Linked DNA regions of Homo sapiens: regions 1, 2, 3, 5, 6 and 7 are each linked to region 4. Evidence: promoter capture Hi-C in 16 types of primary human blood cells and fetal thymus (Javierre and others, 2016). All regions are on one chromosome and are shown on one strand. The core of a region is centred on a gene start or on the middle of the fragment in contact, and the rest is flanking DNA. Distances in the headings are between cores, read along the strand shown.

Region 1 (4,226 bases), core at 1,208-3,707, 1.7 Mb after region 4:
ATATGCCTCTCCTTTCTTAATGATGACAACAAATAACATTTAGTGAGTGTTTGTGTGGATGATAGCAGTATAGTGTTCCATCCTTCCAGTGACCCCGGAGTGGAGCCTGGGAAATCCATTAGAGGTCAGGTGGCTGGGTGAGGGGTTCGAGTCCAGATAGCCTCTCCTTTTTCCTGATATGAGTTGTGTGTGGTGTGATGTTTAAAAGATACCATCAGTCCTAGATTCTTGAGAGGTCATTCAAAGGGATGCTACCCTGAAGCTGCTGGACCATGTTTAAGTGAAAGACAGGATTATAACATTGTCAGCCACTTGCCTGATAGAGATTTGGCTCAGAGAGGTCAGTTGCCTTCTCTAATGCAGGACCTCAAATGGAAAGGGAGGCAGTGGGTCAGAGACGTCCCAGAAGTTTACAGCATGGTGGTGGCTTTAAAATCTTTTAAATTCATCTCTTTTCTAGGTGCAAGGGTGTTGGGATAGGGTCAGGAATACTGAATTGAATTGAATTTCTCTAGCCCAAAATAGCAAGGAGATATTGGTGTTTTTTTGAGGCAGGTTCTCACTCCGTTGTCCAGGTTGGAGTGCAGTGGTGTGATCACAGCTTACTGTAACCTCAACCTCTCTGGCTCAAGTGATCCTCCCACCTCAGCTGGGACCACAGGTGTGTGCCACAACACCTGGCCGGTTATTTTTAAAAATTTTTTGTAGCGGCCAGGCACAGTGGCTCGCGCCTGTAATCCCAGCACTTTGGGAGGCCAAGGCGGGTGGATCACCTGAGCTCAGGAGTTCGAGACCAGCCTGGCCAACATGGTGAAATCCCATCTCTACTAAAAATACAAAAGAATTTGCCGGGCGTGGTGGCGGGCGCCTGTAATCCCAGCTACTTGGGAGGCTGAGGCAGGAGAATTGCTTGAATCCGGGAGGCAGAGGTTGCAGTGAGGTGAGATTGCGCCATTGCACGCCAGCCTGGGTGACAGAGTGAGACTTCATCTCAAAAAAAAAAAAAAAGTTTTTTTTTTTTTTTTTTTTGGTAGAGACAGTCTCCCTATGTTGCCCAGGTTGGTCTCAAACTCCTGGACTCAAGCAGTCTTCCTGCCTTGGCCTCCCGAAGTGTTGGGATTGATTTTTTAAAAATCAGCCTTGAGATTAATTCATATACCTTACAGTTCATCCAATTAGTGATTTTTAATATACCATAGGGTTGTACAACTGTGATCACAATATTATTTTAGAACATTTTATCCCACGTAAAACATAATCCCATTCTCATTAGCAGTCAATAGTCAATCCTCCCTCCCTCCATTTCCCAGCCCTAAGCAATCTCTAATCTGTTTTCTGTCCCTGGATATGCCTATTTTGGACATTTCATGTAAACGGAATCATATAATATGTGGTCTTTTGTGTTTGGCTTCTTTCACTTGGCATAGTGTTTTTAAGTGTTGCCCATGTTGTAGCATGTAGCAATTCTTCATTTCTGTTTATTTCCAAATATTAATCTGTCATATGGATATACCACATTTTATTTTCCATTCATCAGTTAGTTGATGGATGTTTGGGTTGTTTCCACTTATTATTTATTTATTTCTTGAAATGGAGTCTCGTTCTGTCACCCAGGCTGGAGTGCAATGGCGTGATCTCAGCTTACTGCAACTTCCGCCTCCTGGGATCAAGTGATTCTCCTGCCTCAGCCTTCCAAGTAGCTGGGACTGCAGGTGCACACCAACATGCCCAGCTAATTTTTGTATTTTTAGTAGAGACAGGGTTTCGCCATATTGGCCAGGCTGGTCTCAAACTCCTGACCTCAAGTGATCCTCCCACTTTGGCCTCCCAAAGTGTTGGGATTACAGGCGTGAGCCAATGTGCCAGCCAACCACTTATTATTTATTATCTTATAAATAATGCTGTGAACATTGCGTACAGGTTTTTGTGTGGATGTATAACATGTTTTCATTTTGCTAGAGTATATATCTAGGACAAAATTGTTGGTCATAGAGGGACTGCCAGACTGTTTTCCTATGTGTCTGCACCATTTTACATTTCCACCAGCAGTGTATTATGGTTTCATTCTCCCTAGATCCTTGCCAAAATTTGTTACTGTTCATATGTTTGATTATAGGCATCCTAGTGGGTATGAAGGGCTATCTCATTGTGGTTTTGCATTTCAGGACGGCTGATGATGTTGAGCATCTTTTCATGTGCTTATTGGCCATTTGTATATCTTTGGAGAAATGTCTATTCAGGTCCTTTGCCTATTTTTTTTTTAAATTGTGAGAGTTCTTTATATATTCTGGATACAAGTCCTTTATCAGATATAGGATTTGCATATATTTTCTTCCATGGATTGTCTTTCACTTTTTTGATGGTATCATTTACAGCACAACATTTTTAATTTTAATGAAGTCTTATTTATTTATTTTTGGTCACGTGTGCTTTTGGTGTCATATCTAAGAAATATCATTGCCTACCTTAAGGTCACCAAGAGTTGCTACTATTTATTTATTAATTAATTGATTAATTATATAACTGCTCCTTGCAGAGCAGGGCTAACTCATAGGCATTTTGCCCAGAGTTGGTCTATTACTCTTTTCTGTTCTAAGAATGTTATAGTTTTAGCTCTTATATTCAGGTTTGTGATACATTTTGAGTTAATTTTTGTGAGGGAGGGGTCCAACTTTGTTCTGTGAGGTGAAGGTACAACTTTATTGTTTTACATATGGATATCTGATTGTACTAGTACCATTCGTTGAAAAGACTGTTCTTTCCATATTGAGTTGCCTTATTGAAAATCAAATGACCATAAATGTAAGGGTTTATTTATCTGGGCTCTTATTTCTGGGCCCTTAGTTCTAGTTCACTGATCTGTATATCCTATGCCAGTACTACACCTTTTTTTTTTTTTTGAGACGGAGTCTCACTCTGTCACCCAGGCTAGAAGCGCAGTGGCACGGATCTCGGCTCACTGCAACCTCCACCTCCCAGGTTCAAGCAGTTCTCCTGCCTCAGCCTCCTGGGTAGCTAGGACTACAGGTGTGCACCACCATGCCTGGCTAATTTTTGTATTTTTAGTAGAGACGGGGTTTCACCATGTTGGCCAGGTTGATCTCGAACTCCTGACCTCAAGTGATCTGCCCGCCTTGGCCTCTCAAAGTGCTGGATTAGAGGTGTGAGCCACTGCGCCCAGCCACACTGTGTTGGTTACTGTAACTGTGTAGTAGGTTTTGAAATTAGACAGTGTGAGTCCTCCAACTTTGTTGTTGTTTTTTTTTTCCCCAAGATTATTTTGGCTATTCTAGTTTCCTTACATTTCCACATGAATTTTAAGACCAGCTAGTTAATTTATGCTTAAAAAAAAAAAAAAACGGCTGGGATTTTGGTAGGAGTTGCATTGAATCTGTAGATCAATTTCAGGAGTATTGACATCTTAACAATATTAAGCCTTCCAATACCTGATCATGGGATGTTTTCCCATTTATTTAGACATTTTTTCATTTCTTTCCACATTGTTTGTGGTTTTAGGTTTACAAATCTTTTACTTCTTTTGTTGAATTTATACCTAAGTATTTTATTCCTTTTGATGTTATTATAAATGGAATAATTTTCTTAATTTCATTTTTGGAATGTTTATTGCTAGTGTATAAAAATACGACTGATTTGGTATGTTGATCTTATATCTTGCAACCTTGCTGAATTTGTGTATTTGTTCTAATAGTTTTTTAGCGGGTTCCTTAGGACTTTCTATTTGTAAGATAATGTCATGTACAAATGGTGGTAGCTTTAATTCTTCCTCCTCAATATGAGGGCCCTTTTTTTTTTTTTCTAATTGCTCTGGCTAGAATTTCCAGTACGATGTTGAATAGGAGTCGTAAGAGTGGATGCCCTCCTGATCATAGGGGCAAAATATTGAATCTTTCACTGTTAAGTTTGATATTAGCAGTGGGTCTTTGATAGATACACTGTATTGGGTTGAGGAAGTTCCCTTCTATTTCTATTGTTTTTTTTTTTCTTTTCTTTTCTTTTTGAGACGGAGTCTCGCTCTGCCGCCCAGGCTGGAGTGCAGTGGCGCGATCTTGGCTCACCGCAGCCTCCGCCTCCCGGGTTCAAGCGATTCTCCTGCCTTAGCCTCCTGAGTCTGGGATTGCAGGCACGTGTCACCACACCCAGCTACTTTTGTATTTTTAGTAGAGACAAGGTTTTTCCATGTTGGTCAGGCTGGTCTTGAACTCCCA
Region 2 (4,227 bases), core at 1,372-3,871, 1.8 Mb after region 4:
CTTTCTTCCTCGTGGACACTTCTGTGCATTTTCCTACAAGAATATACGTGACAGGTCATGTATAGTTTTCCTTCATATTTGTGTTCTATTAAAAAAATCATCCAACTCAGAAAGCTTTTTATTTTCCAGAAAAAAATTTAAAAGTGACTTATTTCAGAGTATTTTTATTCTTCTACAGAGAGACAGCTAGCTGTGATGGAGGCTCTTCTAGGCAGGATATAGGGTAACTTAGATTCTTGTTCTGGCTTCACCGTTTGCTTGTGGTACTTCAGTTTCTTCCTCTGTGCAGTGGGCATAATAACGCCTGCTCCTTTGACTTCACAGATCATTGAGGAATGAGTGAGATTATATAAAGTAATATACTTAGTGTGGACAATGATACAATAAAGCATGGAGGACAGTGTTACAGGTACATAGCAATTCTGAAAGTGCTTGTTTGATATTAATCACTTCTTTCTTTCCCCCTGCATAAGAAATGTCTTTTCTTTTTAAAAAACATTCTGTTTTTTTCCCAATGATTCCAGAGAACCATGTCAATAAGACTCACAGGGGAAAGCCCATAGAAGGTTTTCAAGAAATCCTGTTAGCAGTGAACAAAACACACAAAAGCTCCATCCACATGGAGCTTACATTCTATTTGGGAGAGAGGGGAAATAAACAAATGAGTATATTGTAGTGTATCAGAAGGAATAGCTTCTAAGAAGAAAAATAAAGGAAGGGGATGCCGAGGGGTTGAGATGTCAGTTAAGATATGAAAAAAGACAGAGATGGCTACAGCACCACGGTGGGGGGTGGGGGGTGGTGGTGGGTGAGGGCGGGTGGTAAAGGGAGATTCCAGGTAGAGGGAATAGCAGATACCAAGACCTCTGGGTTCTGAGGAGCAGGGAGGAGAGACGGGGCAGCTTTGAAACTGTGGGACAGGAGAGTAATGTAACGGTAGAGGAGTGCCTCTTTTTCCAGGCGTGGTCCCTTAGCAGTCTCACTGGTTTATAGTCTCAGTCTGTCATTGGGAACAAGCCTTAATGTGAATGTTGTCATATTAATATCACACCTGTTTGTCAGGTCATTTTTGGCTGCTTTTTTTTTTTTTTTTTTTGAGACGGAGTTTTGCTCTTGTTGTCCAGGCTGGAGTGCAGTGGTGCGATCTCTACGCACTGCAACCTCCGCCTTCCTGGTTCAAGTCATTCTCCTGCCTCAGCCTCCTGAGTAACTGGGATTGCATGTGCCCGCCACCACTCCTGGCTGATTTTTTTTATATTTTTAGTAGAAACGGAGTTTCGCCATGTTGGCCAGGCTGGTCTCGAACTCCTGACCTCAGTTGATCTGCTCACCTTGGCCGCCTAAAATGCTGGGATTACAGGCATGAGCCACCGCGCCCGGCCTTTTTTGTTGTTGTTGTTTGTTTGTTTTGCAGTTTTTTGGGGATCTCATCAGGTTCATTTAGGGCTAAATAAACTGACCCTCCAAGGGACTTAATGACTTATGCTGAAGGACCCTGTGAAAACCTAAATGGTATGCTTCAGGCCTGGAAGCTGACTTAAAAGTGCATTTTAAAAAGTTCTTTGTTATGGTATAATTTTAGATTTATAGAAAAGTTACAAAAAGTGTGCAGAGTTCCCATACACCCTTGACCCAGCTTCCTCTAATGTTAACATCTTACGTAACCATTGACCTTAAGTTTTCAAGTGATGGGTGTGTGTCTACATCTGTGCATGCGTGCATGCACACACCCACCCACACACGCACCCCCCCATGCACACCTCCCCCACGCACACCCCCCCATGCACACCCCACCCCCCCACGCACACCCACACACACACACACAGTGCCAGGGAGGCAGCCCTGTTGTCTGTCAGCCTTTTCATAGCTCATCATATTTACACCTCCTGGATACAGAGTGGACCCTGGCCATGGCAAAAGCAGGCAAGGAGCTACTTTGAAGCTGAAGTTCCAAAGCAGGAGATACGGGGAAAACAATCAGCTGCTACAGAGCTCTGAATATCATGTGAACCCAGTGCCACTTGAACTTTATTTAGTAGAAGATTGGCCTGAGACACTTAATATAGAAATCCCAGCCATCATGTGAGAATTCCATTCCGTGCAAGTACAAATACAAGAGAATTTGGGAATGTTCACTTTGGCTTGTGTTATGCTAAGTCATCTCACTTCTTTCCCATCTAATTTATGAATCAGAACACCAACAATATATACCAGTTTATTAACTAATGAATCAGGAGCAACAAGCCCATCCATCTACCCATCTGCATGGATTTGAGCTTTATTCAGTAGTACTTTGCCTTGGAAATGGTCCAGGTTATTTTGGAAACGGATATTCAATTCAAATGATGACAGCCATTGGCACTCACTCTGGGGCTCAGGAGGGAAACCACGCCCTTCTAGGCTATTGCTGACGCCATCCCTCCAGAATGCAGCTGTCTCGGGTGGAGGCTCTGGGACAGCTGCTTCTGGCTAAGGCTGCCCATTTGGGAGAAGGGGACATTGAAATTGCAAGAGGAGTCATGGCTGAGAGAGATCCTGCTCATATGTGTGGCAGGAATCCTACAGCAGACAAGATTTTGACAATGGACAAGTCACTCACCTTCTAACATGTCCACTTTCCTGTGGATGAAGTGGAATTTTCCAAAAGCAGGAGTACAGTGCTGCCTGTTACTCTTGTGAAACTCTCAATCTCTTGGTGAACTACTGGTATTATAAAGGAGTGCCGTATTAGCGGAGGTGCAAACAAAATGCTTCAGTGCTTTTGATTCCTTTGGCTAAGGATAGGTCTTAATTTTGAATATTTTTTTTCCTACTAGGGCCAATTTCAAAAAAAATCAAGTTTGCATTCACATGTTTAATAATTCCAGTTATACTTTTAGCATTAAAAAATATGCTTGTCTTGGAGACTATTTTTTAACATTTCAGAATCTACAAAACCAGCTTAAATACAGCATGACTATACTGCTACCCCTCTGAAAAACTTTGTATTTGAGTCCTGGCACCTCTGAGGCTTCTTCATGTTGGTGGTTTTTATTTTCCTTTTCACTGACCATGCATGCTACTCTGTGTGAAATAGGGTTTGTGAAATAGGTTGTGTCAGCGCTATCTGTATGCCTTAAAACAAAGTATTATGCTGTTGAGAAAAAGCAAAACAAGGATAGGTCTTTAACAAAGACTATTTAGGCTGCTGCTGCCTAATATAATTCTCATCAGTGAAGTCTTCACTTTGTTGGAAAACAGTGCCTGACACTCCCTTGTGTCCTGCCTGGTGGGACTTCCCTACAGCCCCTTGAGCTGTTTTCCAGGCTCTGCACTGCAGTGAAGGCGTGTTTGTCTTATGAGGGGATGTGCACTGCACTTTCACCTGTATTACCTCACTCCCCAGAGCCACCTTAGGAGATGGATGACATTATCCCTGTTTTTGAGATATGGAGGACGTGCTTCAGAAATTTTAAGAAACTCAAACAAGGTCACACTGGTAGTGAGTAGTAAAGTCAGAATTCCAGGCCTGGTTTTCCAGTACCAAATCCAGTGCTTATTCTCACAGACCATGGGTCAAATCCATCCCACCGCCTGCTGTTATAAATAAAGTTTTATTGGAATACAGCCACACCCATTCATTTCCATATTTTCTGACTGCCTTCCAGCTACAACTGCGGAATTGCAACGGAGACTGTATTGCCCTCAAGGCCTGAAATAGTTATTATTTTCCGCTTCGCGGGAAAAGTTTGCCAAGCCCTGCCCTAAGCCATTGCTGAAGGAGCATCCGGGTTTTGTCTGTCAGTACATTCCCCACTGCCCCTGCCCAACCAGGAATGCCTTTGTGATGCAGTTCTTGCTCTTTTGTAAAGGTGGGGCTGGGTGTGGTGGCTTGTGCCTGTAATCCCAGCACTTTGGGAGGCTGAGGCGGGCAAATCAGTTGAGATCAGGAGTTTGAGACCAGCCTAGACAACATGGCAAAACCCTGTCTCTACAAAAATTACAAAAACTAGCCAGGCCTGGTGGGACACGCCTGTAGCCCCGTCTCCTTGGGAGGCTGAGGTGGGATGATTGCTTGAGCCTGGGAGACAGAGGTTGCAGTGAGCTGAGATTGTGCCACTGCATTCCAGCCTTGGTGACAGAGTGAGACTCTGTCTCCAAAAAAAAAAAAAAAAGTGGTGGGAGCCACACAGTGAAAAAAGCATATGTGCCGGGGCAGCCCAGCTGTGCCTTATTGTCTGCTCTCTG
Region 3 (4,315 bases), core at 864-3,363, 1.7 Mb after region 4:
CCAAAGTGCTGGGATTCTATAGGTGTGAGCCACTGCGCCTGGCCCTCATACAGTTATTAAGAGGATTATGTGAATTTATACATGTGCTTGGCTAAGAGGAAGCATTTGTGTTAGCCATAATTATTGTTTTTACTGAACTCCTTATGATCCATTCATCCAAAAATAGTTTGGAACAGGTATTCTGTGCCACACCTCAAGGGTGGGGTGTGCCCTGGACTTGCTCTGTATGACAGTAACAGGAATAGCCCCCATGGCCTAAAGCATTGATGTGAGCTGTGGTTTTTGCTCACCCATCAACTAGCTTCTCTGCTTTGACTTTGAGGAGAAAGGGTTAATTTTTCAGTGGTCCCAAGGCATTAGAAGAATTGCTTTGGATTCGAATATCAAGACATTCCAAAGGTCTCTTGTGGAAGAAACATAGTTTGGTGTTATATATTTGGGAAAACATCTTTCTATTTGAGAAAACAAGCAGATTGTTATTATTACAGCAGTGGATAAAAGGTGTGACAGGCAAATCATTGGTAAAATAGACTAAAACGTTGACTGCTGCAGTAGATGTTTTATACTGTATTTGAAAGATAGGAAAGTAGTTAGTCTTGTTAAATAACTGGCCGGGTGTAGCAGCTCACGCCTGTAATGCCAGCACTTTGGGAGGCCAAGGCGGGTGGATTGCTTTAGCCCAAGAGTTGGAGACCAGCCTGGGCAATATGGTGAAACCCCATCTCTACAAAACGTACTAAAATTAGCTGGGCATGGTGGTGTGCCCCAGTAGTCCCAGCTGTCTGGGAAGTTGAAGCAGAAGGATCGCTTGAGCCCAGGAGGCAGAGGTTGCAGTGAGCCATGATTACACCATTGTACTCCGGCCTAGGCAATGGAAAGAGACCCTGTTTTAAAAAAAAAAAAACAAAAACAAAAAACTTTTGTACAAGAGGAATATTTTCACAACAATTGAGTGTTAACTTGCAAAACTTTTAGCTGGGGTAAGTCTCTTGATGGTATAGTAGAAGTGATACTCATGGAAAGGAATAAAGAAAATAAATATTCCTGGCCAGGCGCAGTGGCTCACACCTGTAATCCCAGCACTTTGGGAGGCTGAGGCTGGCGGATCACGAGGTCAGGAGTTGGAGACGATCCTGGCTAACACGGTGAAACCCTGTCTCCACTAAAAATACAAAAAATTAGCTGGACGTGGTGGTGGGCACCTGTAGTCCCAGCTACTCAGGAGGCTGAGGCAGGAGAATGGCGTGAACACGGGAGGCAGAGGTTGCAGTGAGCCGAGATTGCGCCACTACACTCCAGCCTGGGCGACAGAGCGAGACTGCATCTCAAAAAAAAAAAAAAAAACAACAAAAAGAAAATAAATATTCCTGGGAGTTTGGCTATCTTTTAATGTAGTTTTTGTTCTTTATAGTATACTGAATTCTCTGTTTGGCAAAAGGCAGCATGGCAGATTGATCATCACAAGCAAGTTTGAGAATTTCCCTCACAAACTCAAGTTGCATCCACATTAGGTCACTAGGGCGGAAAAGAGATGCAGTCTGTAGATGTTCCAAAGAGAAGGCCCATGGCAGGGTTGGGTGGCATTAGGAGTGGTGGCTGGCTTTACTTTGGTAAACGTGTCCTAGGCCGTATGTGATCCTAGACCTTATCTTACCTCCATGATGACTGAGACCCAGCTGGAAGCTCTGGCTGTACTCAAGGTGAGAGAGGGTGGGGGTTAGCGAGTGATAGTGTGGGTAGATGTTTAAGAGATAAGCCTTTGTTGTTGAAGAGATAGTGGTAGGGTAAGGGAGGGGGCGGAGTGAAGGATAAGGCTGAGGTTTCTGAGTTGGACCACCATTAATCAGTTGTCCCAGCGGTGAGGACCTGGAGGGTCTTGTTTTGAATGTGCTGAGTTTGACGTGCTCGTGAGGGTTTTTTTTTTTTTTTTTTTTTTTTTTTGAGACGGAATCTCACTCTATTGTCCAGGCTGGAGTGCAGTGGCACAGTCTTGGCTCACTGCAGCCTCCGTCTCCCGGGTTCAAGCAATTCTCCTGCCTCAGCCTCCCGAGTATCTGGGGATTACAGGCGCCTGCCACCACGCCTGGCTAATTTTTATATTTTTAGTAGGGATGGGGTTTCGCCATGTTGGCCAGGCTGGTCTCGAATTCCTGACCTCAGGTGATTCGCCCTCCTTGGCCCCCCAAAGTGCTGGGATTACAGGCGTGAGCCACCGTGACCGGCTACTCCTGAGATTTCTAAGTGGAGATGTTTAGGGCAGTGGGACGTCTGGGCCTGACACTTCGAAGAGGGATAGGAGTTTGAGGCAAGGGTTTGGGGACCATTCCTGTGTAGTGATATCCATGTGTAGGAGAACTCACAGAGGAGTAGTGACTAGAGATTGGGAGAAGACCAGAATTGCTGGGGGAGGGAGTGTTCTTTTGGTGAAGGGTAGGGTTCACAGGGTTACTCTGCTGTGAGAGGCCAAGTGAGATAGAAGCTAAAATATCTTTTGGGTTTGTTTATACATAGTAGGTATGCAGATATTTCTAGTTGTATCATTTGGTTCTTTGTTTTTCAGAAGAGATGCTGGCTTAGCCTTGTAAACATCGCAGTTGCATAAAAGTATTTATGATAGTCCTTAAAATGCTGTAATTATCTTTGAAGTTTTATAATTTTGCAGTGTTTAACTTATGGCAGCAATAGCATTGGTATTTTAAATCAAAACAGAACACTGTCAAGGGTTACATAACTTATTCATGATATTAACAAGATATAAAGCACCATGTTTTTGTGTGTAACTGTTTAACAGTAGATGAAGTTAATGATTGCCCACTTTCAGCTAATCATATGATTGCTATTGAAATAAGTACTTGCTAGACAGGGATAGAATCTAGTAATTTGTTAGCTTCAGTACTTCATGCTTGCATACACACCCATGCTATTGTGTTACCAAGCCTGAGTTTTGAAATGTGGCGTTCTTTGTCTTTTTCTGGTGAATAAACCCCATACGTCTTACCATAGCCATTTGACTCTTCCTGGCTGTCAGGATGTGTTGCCCTGGACTGAGAGTGAGAGATCCCAGATTTTTCAGCTTCTCTTCCAATTGCTAGGGATACCACATCAGTGCCAACGTGAGTCTCCTCTTGTCACTTTCTGCTAGGCTTCCCCTTAGAAGCTGAAATTCTTTCCCTTCCTGATGCTAAGTTGCAGTTTCTTAAAATGCTAGAGAGCTTTTAAAAGCATACCGTGATGGGAATTAGTTTCAAAAGATTATACCAGAGGGGGTTAAAACTTGCCAACCTTGTAAAAACCTAACTTCTTTGTTTACGTCCTCCCTGCCCCGCTTTCTGCTGTGCTTGGTTTCCTCCTAGCAATATGCCTTGGTCAGGGGGAGAGTCTTCCTGTCAGACATAACTTCCCAGACCAGCACTCCTGGAGGGGCCTGTACCTCAGACCCTGGCAACGAGGCACGCTGGGGCACGCTGGCCTTTCGTTGTGGTGTAGAAAATTTTTCATTTGGAATTCCATTTTAAAAATAAGTATAGGGTTATTTATATCTTCTTACATTAATTTTGATAAGTTGTGTATTTTAAGGGCTTTATCCACTTTATCTAAGCTACTGAATTAATTGGCACAATTATTACTCTTTCAATGTCCATAAGACCTGTAGTGATGTCCCCATATTTTATTTCTGGTATTTGCCTTTCATGTTAAGAATGTGTCTGTTCAAAGGGAGAGGGGAAGGAGAAAAGAAGAATGTGTCTGTTCAAAGGACTGCTGGATCAGGGTAACTTAGCTCAAGAAAATGAGAAGGGGTGGTTTCTGGAAGGGGAGAATGAAAGCCGTGGAGGAAATAAAGCATGAATGTGGGGGAGGGCGGGGGCGGGGACTGCTTCTCTTGCTGGCTGCCTTCTCTCTCTGGAGAATCTGCTGGAGAAGGAGCAGTCACGTGGGTGGTGAGCTCATTAGGCTGGGGACACCAGCTGTGCTATTATTAGGGCTTTTAAAGTCCGTGGCAGATGTTCTTAGGCGGTGTTCCAGCCTTGTTCACTTCCCACATATGGCATGATACTGTACACAGAAAAAAGAGGGACTCTTTAACAAATAGCTTTTCCATGAAATGCATCACTATTTTTTTCCCATGAACTTTTTTCTTTTCTTTCTTCCTCTGTCTCTGTTTCTTTGTTTCTCTCTCTGCTGTTTGTTCTTTCTTCTTTCTCCGTTTATCTTTCTCCCTCTGTCTCTTTCTTGCTTTCCTCTATTTTTCTGTATTCTCATTCTCCCTGTCTCTCCCTCCATCCCTCCTTTCTATACTTCCTTCTTTTGTCCTTTG
Region 4 (4,275 bases), core at 762-3,261:
TCATGTACATCTACTAAGAAAGAAAGGAAACAAATAGAGATGCATTATCTAGATTACAAATTATTTAGAAATTAGAGTGTTAGAGTATTAACATAGGGCACAAAATTGAACTAATAAAATTACTTTAAAGCACACTTATTTAGATATTTTGATGCTCCTTGTTTTGGAGCCAGCTCTAAACTTTACACCTCAATTTGGGATACGAAGAGTGTTTTCCATTTGAACCAGAGCTGGAAGACCACAAATGTGGTTAGATTTCTGAGAGTTAAGAATTTGATTTTTTTTTCAGGCATTAACCTACAAAAGCCTTCATTTCCACACCTGGTGCATAGAGTAATGCTTACCTTATAAAATAGCTATGAAGATTAATAATGTTATATATAAGCTTTGTAACAGGCAAACAGTAAGTACTAAATAAATGGCACTTATCATCATTGTTAATTACAAAAGATTGTCAAATCCAGGTATTCTTAACCTGCGGTCTGCAGATCCTTGGCTCATGGATAAAACTGCAGGGGTGGAGATCCCTAAAATTGGATGGGGAAAGATTATATCTGCATTTTCATTAACCTCTAAGCAAAATTTACCATTTCTTTCCATTATGAATAAAGGCAACATCATAGTGATAGAAGGACCTGTCACTTCGCACCAACAGAAGTTACACATACTTTCATATTAAATTTCTGATGTTACGGACATCACAAAATATCTCTTACATTTATCAGCTTTTTGAAATTATAGTATTAGACCTAATCTTGCTAGATCTTATTAGTGTATTAATAAAGAAATACACGTTATTAATGTATTTTTTAAATTTCAATATAATTGGTTTCCTTTGTAATCCTATGTACTTTGTGAACTTAAAACTTAACTTCTCATTATTCTGAGAAGGGATTCAGCAGCTTCACAGGATTGCCATGGCACACACAAAAAAGTTAAGAATCCCTAAATTTTAGTCTATCTCTTTGCTTCCAGAAAGCCAACCAAGTTTGACAATTGAACACACCTGCCTGAGTGAGCCAATTCCCAAAGTCTCGGGTTTATTTTTCTGTGCGTGACCTGATAGGAAGATATTACGGTCTGGTACATGACTCCATCAATTAACCTATTTGCTGAGCTCACCTTCAGCTTATACCTGGCATCTTTCCTGAATTCTCTGTTGGGCCTTCTGAGGCACACAAAATGAGCTGACAAGCTGATTTTCTGGTATCTTCTGTTCATACACACCTGGCCCCCACTCGATGCCAGGCCCAGGATTAAGCTGGGCAGTGATTCTCAAGCCTGATCCCAGACCAGCAGGCAGGATCAGCATCACCAAGGAGCTTATGAGAATTGCAGATTTTCAGGTCACACCCTAGACTTCCTGAAACAGAAACTCTGGGGTCTATCAGTGTTTTCTCAAGCCCTCCAGAGACACACGCTTTAGTCTGAGATCCACCGTGCTAGGGAATCGGAGGTCCGTCCAATCCTGGAAAGAGAGGCTCCCATCTCCAGTATTGGTTGAGACTAACACCGCTCCTGCAACTGGGGTTGGAATTTCAATGCAGGTAGTTGCTGAGCGGGGGCCAATGAGTTGAAAGCCGGAGCAAGGGGACTTGTTTTGTTCCTGCACCCCGATTTTACTTACATTACCCGGGGCCTCGAGGGTGACTCATAGAGATTAGCCCTGAGCGTCGACCCCTCGGCGCCGCCACTGCACAGCGAGAGAAGGGGAGTCAAGAGAGACGCTTGAGTCCCTTGACTGTCCTCCCCTACGAGCTCTCTGGGAAGAGAGCCCCAGACCTGCGAACTCTGGGCCGCTCTGCGGCCGCTTGAACACTTCGCGGGTCTTCCGCCCCGCGCTAGAGGACGCACTCCGTGACGGGAATTGCGGTCTCGGCCGCCCCCGGCCTCAGGCTTTCCGGGCTCTGCTGCCTCCAGAAAACTACAAGTCCCAGGATGCTCGGCGCGGGACGGTCACGTGGGAGGGGCCGCGGGCGCGGCTAAATAGTCTCCATCGGCCATTTTGTGCGAGAAGCCGCAGCGCCGCCTCTTCTCTCGCGCCCTCGCCTCTTCCTCCGCCTCCTCCTTCGCCTCTTCCTGCCTCCTCCCGGCTTCCGCCGCCGCCACTCCAGCCTAATCCCAACCCCAGGGCGAAGCGTTTTCTTATTTATTTCCGTTTTCTCGCCACTACAGCCTCCTGACAAGGTGATCCGGGCGGGCCCCGCAGGAATTTTATCCCCTCACCGGCCTCACACTAGTATCGCATGTCCACTATCCAGAACCTCCAATCTTTCGGTAAGATCCCGTCGCCGCCGCCTCCCTCCCTTGCCCGGCGCGCATCTCGGCCTTTTGCCCGCCTGGCCACCGCCCCTAGGGGCCCCCTTTCTGCCCTTCCCGCACCCCTAGTGGGGCTTTGTCTCGGCGCCCAGAAAATGGCGACGGGGCCCCTGGCGACCCCTTCCCCGAGGACAGCGCCGGACTCCGAGCCCTCCTCTCGGAGCCCCGGCCGCGGGCCCTGCGCCACCCCCTGCCCCGTCCTTGACCCGGCTCTCGCCTCCGCTTCTGCCCCTTGAAACCTTGGCGATCCTATTTCGTGGACTCCTAGATCGGCCCTGCTACTTGCAAAGGGTATGCCGGGCCAGGGAAACCAGGGATCGGCGCCCGTTCTCTGGCAGCTCCTGGGGGCACTTAGGGAAAGATGCGGATGCAAGCCTCTGATCTGTCACTGGCCAGTGGTTCAGTCTTCTCTGCTTGCGTAGCAATTTGTTAAATTACGCCTCTTGATATATATGTAATCTACTTTTTTTTTGGCAAGGCACAGTTACGGTTAAATGATTAAGGTGGGCGTATTCGAATGTTTATGTTTTCATCAGAATGTAATCGAGATGACGCACATTTTTATAGCGGCTACAATATTAAGGTTTTCTAAATCTTTTTCTCATTAGAGGACCATATTGAACGATAACATTATTTATCTATAACAGCGTTTTTCTACAATGGACATAGCTGTTCAAATGTTTCTCTTTTTGTGAGAGTATCTTGGGGGTTTTATTAATACTCCACCCCCATCTCCATTCCTACCGGCAAAAACAGCAAAGGCACTAGAACCTTCATTGATGACTGTCTGGATTGGTAGTATAATGTATTTCTGGAAAGTACTTCTTAAAAAATATTTTTCTACTTTGGATTTTTTTTTTTTTTTTATCCATTCGCAGACCCCTTTGCTGATGCAACTAAGGGTGACGACTTACTCCCGGCAGGGACTGAGGATTACATTCATATAAGAATCCAGCAACGGAACGGCAGAAAGACACTGACTACTGTTCAGGGCATTGCAGATGATTATGACAAAAAGAAACTTGTGAAAGCTTTCAAAAAGGTAAAGGGATTAGGAAGAAAGGATTAGAGTTACTGATGCACACCTCTGAACTGGATTATGATTCACACCTTTATATCGGCGTGGATGAAAATAACTAGACCAAGAAAGTTGTTCTCATTTTTGTAATTAACATGTAAATATTTAGTTATTCTCCCAGTGTGGTCTCTCATTTTAAAAGAAGATTCGCGTTGCTTTTAAATAAATTTAAATGTGAAATATTTAGTTCTTGATGTTACACATAAAATCATTTCCTGGTTTACAAATTAATTTGGAAGGATTGTGGATTATAGGAGACAAAATCTGTTTCTCTAAATATGATCTAGCTTACTGAAATGGCTAATTCTGTTCATACGGTGAAATAAAACCTCATAGTAGTTGACTAAATTTTGTTGTATATTTATGCACTTTTCCAGAAATTTGCCTGTAATGGTACTGTGATTGAACATCCTGAATACGGAGAGGTTATTCAGCTTCAAGGTGACCAAAGAAAAAACATCTGCCAGTTTCTCTTGGAGGTGAGTGATTGGGTGCTTTATGTGTAACCTTGAGATTGCTTTTAAAATTGTATTTAAAGGCAACATGATTTGTTTTCTACTAAGTAAAAAATCATACGAATGAAGGAAATTAGGTGAAATAAAGACATGGTAGTTATTTGGAAAGCAAAGACCTTTATCTGGTTTATTTTGTCATTAGAGTATTCTGATCATTTCTTTATATACACACACAGGCTATTTCTTGGCATGTAAAGTATTCAAATACGTGTTGAATTGTTGGCTATCAGCAGTGCATGCCACAGACAACAGTGTTGCAGTAAGCTGTTGATAGTGATTCTTTTTAATTACTCTTCCATGTTTTCTTAATGAATTTTTATATTTCTCAGAGTTATTTTGCTAAATTAGATTTTATTTTACAGG
Region 5 (3,805 bases), core at 494-2,993, 1.6 Mb after region 4:
CTGGGATTACAGACACCCACCAGCACGTCCAGCTAATTTTTTTTTCTTAGCAGAGACGGGTTTTCGCCATGTTGTCCAGGCTTGTCTCAGTCTCCTGACCTCAGGTGATCCGCCTGCCTTGGCCTCCCAAAGTGCTGGGATTACAGGCGTGAGCTACTGAGCCCGGTCCATACTACAAAATTTTTTAATGCATTGGTCCTAATTACTTTAAGATACCACTCTGACTTTAATTCTTTCAGTGATTACAAACATTATTCAAGCCTCACATATAGAAAAGTATTAAAAGAAAGGCTGGGCACTGTGGCTCATGTGTGTAATCGCAGCACTCTGGGAGGCCTGGTGGATCACCTAAGGTCAGGAGTTCAAGACAAGCCTGGCCAACATGGCAAAATCCTGTCTCTACTAAAAATACAAAAATTAGCCAGGCGAGGTGGTGGGCCCCTGTAGTCCCAGCTACTCTCGGGAGGCTGAGGCAGGAGAATTGCCTGAACCTGGGAGGTGGAGGCTGCAGTGAGCCAAGATCGCACCACTGCACTCTAGCCTGGACAACAGAACAAGACTCCATCTCAAAAAAATAAAATAAAAATAAATGAAAGAATAAAAAAGTATTTAAAGAAAAACAGAACCTCTTCTTTTCTGTAAGTATTTATCCAAATAAAGAAGCTTTTGCCTTCAAAGCATTAACAACAACAACAAAAACTGGGTGCATTGGCAGGCAGATGGCTCAAACCCAGGAGTTTGAGACCAGCCTGAGCAACACGGCAAAACACCATCTCTACAAAAAAATTAGCCAGGCATGGTGGCACACACCTGTAGTCATAGCTACTTGAGAGGCTAAAGTGGCAAGATCACTTGAATCCAGGAGGCAGAGGTTACAATGAACCAAAATCACGCCACTGCACTCCAGCCTGGGCAATAGACGGAGATCTTGTCTCAAAAACAAAACAAACCAAACAAGCTGGACTTCTGAAATTTTAAGTTCAATTCTATTTTAAGTTAAAGAACAAAATGAAGAGGCATTAATTCTTACAAATGGAAATAATGAGTTGCTTTGGTAAAAAAATAAGTTGGTTTGGTTAAAAATTTTCAAAAATCCTGTACATAGCAAAATCTACATTTCACTGGCCACGACCTAACTGTAACTTTGAAATTGGAGAGTGAAACTGGCATTTGGCACTAAAATTCCTGTTCTTTATCTCTGTGTAACAAAGTTTGCACCAAGATAGCAGATGCTTTAAGAAAATTTAACTTTTGTCTTGCACTGATCCCTCTTTTTTCATTTTACCTACCTGAGAAGAAACATGGATTCATTCAATTGACCCTCAAGAGTACTCTTAGGCCGAAACTCAGTTGGATTTTCTGTAGCAGGAAAGTAATATGTTATCCAGAAAAGAACAAAAATATCATATGCAAGGCATAACGTACACAAAGATTTAAAGGGACATAACACTGAAATTAGGAACTCTCTCAAACAACATTCTAAGTAGCATGAATGTGCTCAAATAAAACTTACCTAGTCTGAAAGAGTGACCTAGTGGTTGACCACTCTTGTGCCCTTTTGCTTGTCTACTCTGAGAGTTCTGCAAAAGCTCCTTGGAATCTTGTGGCCCAGAACACTCCATAGTGTTTCTGCTATTATTGGAGAAAACCAACACAATCAAACTTACTTTGGAGTTCTCTATAGTTTTATGTTAGAGAAAAAGAGGTTGGAGAAGATAATTAAATTACACATGACATTTAGCAAAGTTACAGAATCTCTTAACTTTATGCCTCCCTCATCCACATAGCCATCAAAGACCGGCAGGAAAGCTACGTCACTGTAGTCCCTCAAGATCCAGGCTAAGGCCAGGCGTGGTGGTACACACCTGTAATCCCCGCACTTTGGGAGGCCGAGGCAGACGGATCACTTGAACTCAGGAGTTTGAGACCAGCCTGGGCAACATAGTGAGACCTTGTCTCTACTTTTTTGTTTTTAACAATTTTTTTTAATTTAAAAAAAAAAAAGATCCAGGCTGACAGACCAGGCATGGTGGCTCACGCCTATAATCCTAACACTTTGGGAGGCCACAGCGGGCAAATCGCTTGAGGCCAGGAGTTTGAAACCAGCCTGGGCAACATGGTGAAACCCTGTCTCTACTAAAAATACAATAAATAGCTGAGTGTAGTGGCACACACCTATAGTCTCAGCTACCCAGGAATCTGAGGTAGGAGGATCACCTGAGCCCAGGGAGGTCAAGGCTGCAATGCACCATGATTGTACCACTACACTCCTGCCTAGGTGACAGAGTGAGACGTTGTCTCAAAAAAAAAAAAAAAAAAAAATCCAGGTTGGAACTCCATTTTGACATTTTTCTTCCCAATTACCTCATCATGTAGTAAATTACCACTGCTCTTCAACTTTGCATCTGGGAATAACACACATTGCTTTTACTAACATTTTGTTACCAGAAACAAGTCACATGACCACACCTAACATAAAGAGGAGAAAAAAGATCCTACCATTTACTTGGGAGGTGGGAAGCCAGATGTATTTGGTAACAGAACTAATGACTATCATATTATATCAATGACTGAAGAATAACAACAGAAAATATGCAAAATCAAGAACATAAAAATATCATGAGTAAACTCCTCAAGCAACCCTTAATTAAACAAACGCTGGATTTTCTCCTACTACGAAAGCAGAGAAATTCCAGTCATTGATGTTGTATATTTAGAACAGTAATGGGCTTAAGTGTCCAGTAACTATGTCCCATACACAAAGGTAAGTGTATACTACCTGAGACTGAGATCTTCGACGCTTGATTCCTGATCTGCTCCAGCAAAAGCTTTCTTCCAAAATGAATGCTGCAGTAGCCTTGTCCAAGTCAATCTTTAAAAAACATAAATGTTAAAACTCTACTTTAACATGATTTACCATGAAAAATTCCCAAGACATGTCCCAATTACACATAGCAGATTTTACAAGGTACACATGTACCTTTGAAATCATTTTATATTTTATTATTTCATTTTTGTATGCTATTAACCTCTTTTAGACAGCAAGATAAAAAGAAACAATTCAGAAGCATTAAATGGTACAGAATGAAACAGTCTGATAACTAAGCATTAGAAGTTTCAGGGTTCAAATTCCATAGAGTCTGGTTTCTCCAACCAGCCTAGGAAAAACGGAGTCGATAAATAATTTGAAATTCTTTTTTTTTTTTTTTTTTTTTTGAGACGGAGGCTGGCTCTGTCACCCAGGCTGGAGTGCAGTGGCGCGATCTCGGCTCACTGCAAACTCTGCCTCCCGGGTTCACGCCATTCTCCTGCCTCAGCCTCCCGAGTGGCTGGGACTACAGGCGTCCGCCACCACGCCTGGATAATTTTTTGTATTTTTAGTAGAGACGGGATTTCACCGTGTTATCCAGGGTGGTCTCGATCTCCTCACCTCGTGATCCACCCGCCTCCGCCTCCCAAAGTGCTGGGATTACTGGCGTGAGCCACCGTGCTCAGCGTAATTTGAAATTCTAAAGTAAATATATCAGATATCTATAATCCTGTCATCCTTTATTTCACAACAGAGGCAAGATTATTTTACTTACCCTAACTGACACATTTAAGTTTTGGAACTATTCTGTTGGAAATTCATTCAGGAATAAATAAGAATATCAGCCCAGGTGTAGTGGCTCACACCTGTAATCCCAGCATTTTGGGAGGCCAAGGTGGGTAGATTGCTTGAGTCCATGATTTTGAGGCCAGCCTGGACAATGTGGCAAAACCCCATCTCTACAAAAAATACAAAAATTAGTTGGGTGTGGGGGCC
Region 6 (4,333 bases), core at 878-3,377, 1.6 Mb after region 4:
GCTTGAAAAAAAAAAAAAAAACCTTTTTTTTTAAAGTCACATCCAAACTCTACTACCACTTAACACAAACAAATGAGCCCATATATGCAGAGCTCCCCATTTTAAAAATGAAACACTCTGTGAACAACTAGGTGGGCTCATACCGTAGCACAATTAGAGGAAAATGGATCCACATAACTTAGACGACAGAGGAGTTAAAAAGCAAAAAGCAGAGCGACCAAGAGAAAATTTAAGGAGCAACTTGTAAGAAACTACAAAACTAAAATTAAAAAATTAGCCAGGCATGGTGGCACATGCCTGTGGTCCCAGCTACTAGGGAGGCTGCGGCAGGAGGATCCATTGAGCCCGGGAAGTCAAGGCACAGTGAGCCGTGATCACATCACTGCACTCCAGCCTGAGTGACAGAGTGAGACTCTGTCTCAAAAAAAAAAAAAAAAAAAAAAAAGAGAAAGAAACTGTAAAACTAATAAGCCACCAAAGAATAAGGAAGACCACCTGGTGACCATGTTTAAGGACTCCCACTGATTCAGGCACAGGAAGGGGGAGGTCCTGATGAAAAATAAAGGGAGCATGGCAATTCCAACAGAATCACCAACAGAATCTGGGCCCCAGCAATTCCTTCCAGCACTCCTCATCATTCAACATACGCCCCACGCCTACTCTTCCAAATGCTGGGCCAAACTGCCTCTCAAAGTCCTGCCCTCCACCTTCACCTCAACCACCTATCCACGGTTACTCCACAGACCTGCGGTGTTCAATGTGGGAGCGATGTGCCACACAGGGCTACTGAGAACTCGAAAAGTGGCTTGTCTGAACTGGGATGTGCTACAGATGTGAAATACACACAGTATTCTGAAGACTTCATACCAAAAAATAATAATATCTCAATAATAGTTTTTACCAGCCAGGTGCAGTGGCTAACACCTGTAAACCCAACACTTTGGGAGGCCAAGGTGGGCGTATGACTTGAGGTCAGAAGTTTAAGACCAGCCTGGCCAACATGATGAAACCCTATCTCTATAAAAAATACAAAAATTAGGCAGGCATGGTGGTGCATGCCTGAAATTCCAGGAACTCAGGGGTCTGAGGCAGCAGAATCACTTGAACCCAGAAGGCAGAGGTTGCAGTGAGCCTAGATCACGCCATTGCACTCCAGCCTGGGTGGCAGATTAAGACTTCATCTCAAAAAAATAAATAAATAGGCCGGGCGCGGTGGCTCACGCCTGTAATGCCAGCACTTTGGGAGGCCAAGGCAGGTGGATCACCTGAGGTCAGGAGTTCAAAACCAGCCTGACCAACATGGAGAAACCCCATCTCTACTAAAACTACAAAATTAGCTGGGCATGGAGGCGCATGCCTGTAACCCCAGCTACTCAGGAGGCTGAGGCAGGAGAATCGCTTGAACCCGGGAGGTGAGGCTGCAGTGAGCCAAGATGGTGCCATTGCACTCCAGTCTGGGCAACAAGAGTGAAACTCCATCTCAAAAAATAAATTAATTAATTTCATTAAATTAAATAAATAAATAGTTTTAACCAATTATATGTTGAAGTGATCATACATTGTGTATACTGGCTTTAGAAATATATTACCAAAGTTAGGCTGGGCACGGTGGCTCAGGCCTGTAATCCCAGCACTTTGGGAGGCCGAGGCGGGTGGATCACGAGGTAAGGAGATCAAGACCATCCTGGCTAATATGGTGAAACCCCATCTCTACTAAAAATACAAAAAATTAGCCGGGCATGGTGGTGGGCACCTGTAGTCCCAGCTACTCGGGAGGCTGAGGCAGCAGAATGGCGTGAACCCGGCAGGCGGAGCTTGCAGTGAGCCAAGATCGTGCCACCGCACTCCAGCCTGGGCGACAGAGCGAGACTCCATCTCAAAAAAAAAAAAAAAAGAAAGAAATATATTACCAAAGTTAATTTCACCCATTTGTTTTTCATTTTTCAATGTGGCTACTAAAAAATTCAAAATTAGATTTGTGGCCCCCATTATATTTTTATTAGATGGTGTTGCTAGACTTTTACTAAAACTGCATTACCACCAAAATCTCTGTTACACATCCTAGCCTGTGACCATATACACGCACTTTCCAGCCCGCTCCCACAACCATTCCAATTCTGGTTAAACTCAACCAACCCTCCACATACTCTGCAGCTACTCAAGCAGGTAAAGCAGAAACAAACCATGCTGCCTGATTTACTTTAAATTTATGATCACAAATCTCAAATGGCCCAAGACAACCTGCTTTTCAAGTGACCATTCACACCTCCTCTTTCCTCTCCTCTCCTACCTCCTAACTGATGACTTTGCTTATTTCAGGGAAGATAGAACCAAACAGAAGAGAACTTTCTCAGGCTCCTGGCATGGAATCCACCAACTTGCATCTTGTACCATACCCTGCCTTACCTCAACTATCCATGCTCCTTCCAAAAGCCAAAACCTCCCCTTGTATACATGATCCCAACCCCCCTCAAACTTCACTTACATTATACAACTGTCTCCTCGCCACATTATGCTGAGTATTTTTCCCTTGCTAATAGACCATTTCCATCAGCATACAAACATGCTGAAATTATTATCCTTATGGAAAAGCTGCTAGCTGCTTACCTAAATCTTTAATAACAGAATTCCTCTATGACAGAACAGCCTTGTGCCTGTCCAGAAAAAGATTTCCGCCCCTCCTGCCCAGAAAGGGGACACCAACAAGATGTTAACAGGGTCAGTAGCTCAGGTTTCCTGGAAAACACTTAATGGGGTTTATTCAACGTAACCCCGTGGCACCCTCTTTCTTCCCCTTCCTCCCTGGAAAGCTGACATGATAACTAAAGTGACAGTGGCCATCCAGCAACTGTGAAATGGCCTTGCACATAAGCCAAGTTCAATAAGGATAGCAGAGAAGAATGACAGGGAATTGATGACATGGTAGAATCAGTTTGCAAGTGCAGTTTCCTTTACATGAGAGAAAATAAACCACCTGCTTTAAGACGTGTAATTTCACGGGAGGATGAGGCAGGAGAATTGCCTGAATCCAAGAGGTGGAGGTTGCAGTGAGCTGAAATCATGCCACTGTACTCCAGTCTGGGCTACAGAGTGAGATCCTGTCTAAAAAAACGTAATTTCAGATGTCAGGAGTCAGAAGTAACTCCTGATAATTCTTTCCATCTCAACCTCCTGTCTCCATCCAGTTATCATCCCATTTCTCTGCTCCTTGATACAGCAAAACTCCTTAAGGATGGCCTCTACCTTCTCCCACTCCCTCTTTTTATAAGAAGTGTACTTATTTATTTTTGTAGAGATAGGGTCTTGCTATGTTGCCCAGGCTGGTTTCAAACTCCTGGCCTCAAGCAATCCTCCCACCTCAGCCTCCCAAAACACCAGGATTACAGGAATGAGCCAGTAAGCCCGGCTCACTCCCCCTTAAACATATTTCAGTTCCAGCTTTCATCCCCACCACTTTCTGAAACCACTCTCTTCAAGGTTATCAGTGGCCTCTCCATTGCCAAATCCTCAGTCCTCACCTTATTAGCAGCATCTCACACAAGTGGTTTCTCTCATCACCATATACCACTGACGTTATTTGACCTCTATGACATCCCATGATTTGGCCAATATTTTTAGTTACAGAGAACAGAATATATTCTGGCTAACAAAAGGACTTCTAAGGGGCCTACATAATTCCAGAATTGATTATGGGAAGTTCCTGAAACAGAATCTAGGCTCAATTTCTGGAAAGAATTCCCAAAACCACACCATAAAACTGAGCCGCCAGAGGAGCACTGGCCCCTGTCTCCATCAGAACATTAAGGAATCAAGACTCTGCCATCACAGCTATCACAGCTGTCAGCACCAAAGTGCTGCCTCTGCCACCAGTAGGAAGCCACCACATCCAAACCATACTGCCTCTGCCTCAAGATGTGCCGGCAAATGGATGGATGCCTTGGGGCCTTTACCACTTACATCAGTTTGGAATCCAAATGTCCTTCTAGTGCATCTAATTAATTTAATCACAATCCCACCTAGAACTCTGGCTGCAAAGAGTCTGGGAATTGCAGTTTGTAGCTCCCCAGAGCCTGAGGAACAGGAGAACATGCCAGAATGGGTGATAAGCAAACCAATTCACAGTTACCCACACTCTCCAGCTCCCCTCTCTCACTGGATGCTCCCTTTCACTCTCCTTTGCTGGGTCCTCCTTCTCCTTACACTTGCTAAATGTTGCAATGAAGGTCCTCAGTCCTCTTCTATCTTCCCTCACGTTGGCCTAATGTCTATATGCTGATGACATATGAATTTGACATATAAAGATACACAGCATTTCCATCCCTCCAGAAAGCAC
Region 7 (3,937 bases), core at 1,117-3,616, 1.8 Mb after region 4:
AATATATGGAACTGTGATCGGATAAATGGCTATTATTTCAAGCCACTCAATTTGTGGTAATTTGTTACAGTAGTAATAGAACACTGACATAATCCCGGAGAACAATTAGTCCCTTTTTGAAAACTTTTGCCATACTTGGACCTGCTTGTTTAGAATTGCTGAGTAAAATCCCTTGGTATATCAGATGCCTCTGCCCAGAAAGAGGAAACCTTGAAAGCTCAGGTACCTGGCTGGCCATGGAGGGGATCACCCAGGACTAGCTTCTCCTTGTCACCTTTTGGGCTTCAACCTGGTGCTCTGGTTCTCATTTTCTCCTTACAATCTCTGAGTTTGTCGTGAAGGAAGCTCCTTCTTCTTTTTTTTTTTTTTTTGTTTTGAGATAGAGTCTTGCTGTCTTGCCCAGGCTGGAGTACAATGGTGCAGTCTCGGCTTACTGCAACCTCTGCCTTCGGGTTCAAGCAATTCTCCTGCCTCAACCTCCCGAGTAGCTGGGACTACAGGCGCTCACCACCATGCCTGGCAATTTTTTTGTATCTTTAGTAGAGATGGGGTTTTGCCATGTAGGTCAGGCTGGTCTCAAACTCCTGACCTCAGGTGATCCGCCCTCCTCGGCCTCCTAAAGTGCTAGGATTACAGGCGTGAGCCACTGCGCCCTGCTGGAAGCTCCTTTTTTTTTGTTGTTTTTTTAACCCCTTGCAAAATCAGTGATTTATTGTTTACAAAGGGCAGCTCTGTCTGCTCGTGATCTCCTACTGGAAGTTACCTGTGTGTGGGTGAGAATAGTTTCACAATCATTGCACCAGGGAGTGGAGAAGGACTTACCAGGGTGCACAAATCCTTCTGCATTTCCACCTGCCCTCTTTTGTACTTCCTGGAGTGGTATAGCTGGAAGGCAGTGTGTTGAAGGTTGCTCGATCCCTTCCTTGTCCAGATGAGGGGTCTGAGGCCCAGGGACATAACACAGTTTCCTCAGTGTCACACAGCTTTGAGTTTTAGTTAAGGTTCTGAGTCACAGAAATGACATCGGTTGAGGGTAGCGGGGAGAAAATATTAGGAACTTGCACACGTGTATTTTGTCAGCAAATTTGAGTTCAGTAGCAAACTGGCATAACGTTGAACAACCGTGCGTTAAGTACTCTTGACAAACTGGGGGCCGGAATTGTTGATCATTGAGTTGAGAAGAGTGGGGCAGGGGACCTGGGCCACCCACCCCAGGCTCAGCTTCCATGTATACTTTATCCTACTACTATTCCTGGCACCTCTTTTGCTGAAAAATTGACCTGGTTGCAGAATTTCTCACTCCTCTGCTAAGAAAAATCCTGCCTTCCTGCAGCTCTCTAGGCAGAATTCAGTAAACTAAACAGAGGCGCTTTCATCTCTCAGGGCCATGCCATCCACTCTCACTTTTCTTAAGCCTTGTTTGTTTCCTCTGCCTGAAAGAAGCCTTTTGCCTGGTGTGCCAGGGTTTGCTGGAGCCAGAGAACATCCAGGGCAGTGGATGCTTTGTTCCTGAGCCCCTGTGAAACCTCAGAAATGCCTGTTTACATTAGAGTGAAGTTAGGCTGGCACCTTGGGGAAAGATTGTCACCTTTGCCCTACAAATTCCTGGGTGTCCCCAGAGGGCACATGCTGTGACTCATTCTTCAAGCTAGAAAGTGGGTGGAGGCCTTACAAACCAGCTTTTGAGTAGTCTGTAAATGAGGTCTCCTGATCCTTGAATTGTATCTGGGTCATTTTACATGTTTGACTATTAAACTACTCTTTTTTTTTGAGATAGGATCTCACTGTGTCACCCAGGCTGGGGTGGAGTGGCACAATCATGGCTCTCTACAGCCTCAACTTCCTGGGTTCAGGTGGTCCTCCCACCTCAACCTCCCTAGTAGCAGGGACCACAGACACATGCCACCAATCCTGGTCAATTTTTTGTATTTTTTTGTAGAGTTAGGGTTCCACCATGTTGCCCAGGCTGCTCTTGAACTCCTGGGCTCAGGCCATCCACCCGCCTGGGCCTCCCAAAGTGCTAGGATTATGGTGTGAGCCACTGGGCCTGGCCACTGTGAGCCACATTTGATGTATATTGGTCTGTGTTGAAAATGAAGTAAGGTTAAACTCGAGCCAGCCTAGAGAGCCCATGGGCTGTGGTCTGCATACTTGGAACACTTAGGAGTCCCTCAGGTGGTTTTCATTGATTTCTGTTAGTCCTCAAGGTTAGCAGTGTGAAATTTGGGAGTTTAGACCCTTTGGTTCCAGTATAAATGATAGAACCTGGGCTTTAAAGCTTCAGGGGATCCTCAGAGTCATTTGCACCAAACCCCTTCTTTCATTTGTTGTTATTTATTCTACAGACATTTACTTAGTACCTAATATGTGCCAACACCGGTCCATGCTTTCAAGGAGCACACAATTTTTTGGGGGAGATCAGCCCTGGACAAATGGTGGTCAATGGACAATGCATGAAGCTTGTGTCTGAGATAGAGAGGCATTCCCCAAAATGTACTCCATGAAACAAATGCCATGTAGATAGGTATGTGGAGAAAGGATCCATAGTAAAGTAGGTTTGGAAATGCTGGCATATGAATACTATAGTAGAACCAAGAAAGGTGCCAGATTCTGAGAATCTGGAAATTATAATGTTAATGACAGTAATTATTTTGAGAATCTAATTTGTACTAGACACAGAGGTAAGTGCCTTATATGGATAAGTGCCTTACATTTTACAGAATTCAGTAGTTTGGATGTGCCATAATTTATAACTGTTTTTCTACGAATAGAAATTTGGTTGTTTTCCACTTGAATTTACTGGGTGAAAGCTTAGTTTTGTCATTTCAAGAGGGGCCTCTCAGGCTTCTGAATAGCTTTGCCAGTTGCTGTACATGTAAAATGTTCTTTGGATTTCAGAACTGTGGCTTGTGTTTCCCTTTTGAGTCTTGAGTGAGGTGAGCATTTGCTGATGTCTCCAAATTTTGTTTTTTTCAGGAAGTGCTTATACTTAAAATATTTCTTTTGTAGCAGTATGTTTCTGGGTTAAGTGTCTGGCAGCTATAAATGGAAACATCGATACTAGGAGGAGAAACAGTAGTGATTTAGGGCTATTGATCATGATTTAGGCCATCTCCCTCATTTTATAGGTAGTGAAAGCGAAAGTTATATAAAGCTTGGTTGTAAAACCTCTTTAAGAAATCTTCACATATTAGGGCCAGGCCTGGCAGCTCACGCCTGTAATCCCAGCACCTTGGGAGGCTGAGGTGGGTGGATCACTTGAGGCCAGGAGTTTGAGACCAGCCTGGCCAACATGGTGAAACCCCGTCTTTATCAAAAATAAAAAATTAGCCTAGCGTAGTGGTGCGTGCCTGTAGTCTCAGCTACTTGGGAGACTGAGGCAGAATTGCTTGAACCTAGGAGGCCAAGGCTTCAGTGAGCCGAGATCGCGCCACTGCACTCCAGCCTGGGAGACAGAGCACAAAACCTGTCTCAAAAAACAAACAAACAAACAAACAAAAACCAGAGAAATCTTTACATATTAGAGCCTTTGTTAAAAAAAAAAACACAAAAAACCAAAATCATATTGATTTAAATGAAACTGTCTTAGTTTTCAGAAGAACAATTGCATTTTGCAAAGTGAGAAAGTATTTCCAACTTCTGTGTATGGATCAGATAGAATATGTCTAAGTACAAGTTAAAGAAGGCTTGAATGAGGGTTCAATTTGTTAATGCATTTTAAAACCTTTTCAAGACCACATTCATCATCTACTGTTTTTCTGCCTACAGCATCTTTCTATGTTGATACATTAATATCTGTTGTGATGCTTCCTCTTGGCTTGGTTGACTTGTTGATAGCTGTCGCATAATTAATGACTCGATCCTCTGTTGTGGCTTGTTAGGTTGTAGCATTTCACTGTGCCATACATCTTTGACCTATATATACTTGAGCCCGAGA

The links. Contacts are between HindIII fragments. The CHiCAGO score rates a contact against its expected background, and 5 or more counts as called.
Region 1: a contact is called between a fragment that was not itself captured here and the fragment with the promoter of EIF1B in region 4, in 1 of 17 cell types (neutrophils). The highest score is 5.0, in neutrophils.
Region 2: a contact is called between a fragment that was not itself captured here and the fragment with the promoter of EIF1B in region 4, in 1 of 17 cell types (total B cells). The highest score is 6.5, in total B cells.
Region 3: a contact is called between a fragment that was not itself captured here and the fragment with the promoter of EIF1B in region 4, in 8 of 17 cell types (neutrophils, total CD8 T cells, activated CD4 T cells and 5 more). The highest score is 11.4, in neutrophils.
Region 5: a contact is called between a fragment that was not itself captured here and the fragment with the promoter of EIF1B in region 4, in 1 of 17 cell types (activated CD4 T cells). The highest score is 8.7, in activated CD4 T cells.
Region 6: a contact is called between a fragment that was not itself captured here and the fragment with the promoter of EIF1B in region 4, in 7 of 17 cell types (naive CD4 T cells, total CD8 T cells, activated CD4 T cells and 4 more). The highest score is 8.2, in naive CD4 T cells.
Region 7: a fragment that was not itself captured here is called in contact with the fragment with the promoter of EIF1B in region 4 in 11 of 17 cell types (total CD8 T cells, total B cells, total CD4 T cells and 8 more); the score reaches 17.2 in total CD8 T cells.

What each region holds. Positions count from the first base shown.
Region 1 is chr3:42,037,795-42,042,020 of GRCh38, forward strand. It overlaps a transcript of TRAK1 not described here. Among named protein-coding and RNA genes, the nearest start is that of TRAK1, 51 kb to the right of the region's middle. The HindIII fragment of the contact is 5,750 bases long and covers 1-4,226 here.
Region 2 is chr3:42,059,549-42,063,775 of GRCh38, forward strand. It overlaps a transcript of TRAK1 not described here. Among named protein-coding and RNA genes, the nearest start is that of TRAK1, 30 kb to the right of the region's middle. RefSeq lists a silencer at 2,235-2,454. The HindIII fragment of the contact is 5,018 bases long and covers 113-4,227 here.
Region 3 is chr3:42,021,831-42,026,145 of GRCh38, forward strand. It overlaps a transcript of TRAK1 not described here. Among named protein-coding and RNA genes, the nearest start is that of ULK4, 62 kb to the left of the region's middle. RefSeq lists an enhancer at 2,508-3,426. The HindIII fragment of the contact is 5,804 bases long and covers 1-4,315 here.
Region 4 is chr3:40,307,696-40,311,970 of GRCh38, forward strand. EIF1B (eukaryotic translation initiation factor 1B) reads left to right here and starts at 2,012. Exons shown (of 4, transcript NM_005875.3): 1 at 2,012-2,277; 2 at 3,198-3,361; 3 at 3,775-3,876; 4 at 4,275. The coding sequence starts at 2,247. EIF1B-AS1 (EIF1B antisense RNA 1) reads right to left here and starts at 2,003. Exons shown (of 3, transcript NR_033965.1): 1 at 1,628-2,003. It overlaps LOC124906228 (a long non-coding RNA gene), which reads right to left and starts at 1,116. Exons shown (of 2, transcript XR_007095876.1): 1 at 1-1,116. RefSeq lists an enhancer at 1,743-2,102 and a silencer at 2,373-2,422. The HindIII fragment of the contact is 2,965 bases long and covers 384-3,348 here.
Region 5 is chr3:41,910,028-41,913,832 of GRCh38, forward strand. ULK4 (unc-51 like kinase 4) reads right to left here. Exons shown (of 37, transcript NM_017886.4): 9 at 2,780-2,872; 10 at 1,514-1,632; 11 at 1,290-1,359. Among named protein-coding and RNA genes, the nearest start is that of ULK4, 50 kb to the right of the region's middle. The HindIII fragment of the contact is 2,165 bases long and covers 662-2,826 here.
Region 6 is chr3:41,941,335-41,945,667 of GRCh38, forward strand. The region is part of intron 2 of ULK4 (unc-51 like kinase 4); the gene reads right to left. Among named protein-coding and RNA genes, the nearest start is that of ULK4, 19 kb to the right of the region's middle. The HindIII fragment of the contact is 6,777 bases long and covers 1-4,333 here.
Region 7 is chr3:42,079,123-42,083,059 of GRCh38, forward strand. It overlaps a transcript of TRAK1 not described here. Among named protein-coding and RNA genes, the nearest start is that of TRAK1, 10 kb to the right of the region's middle. The HindIII fragment of the contact is 181 bases long and covers 2,277-2,457 here.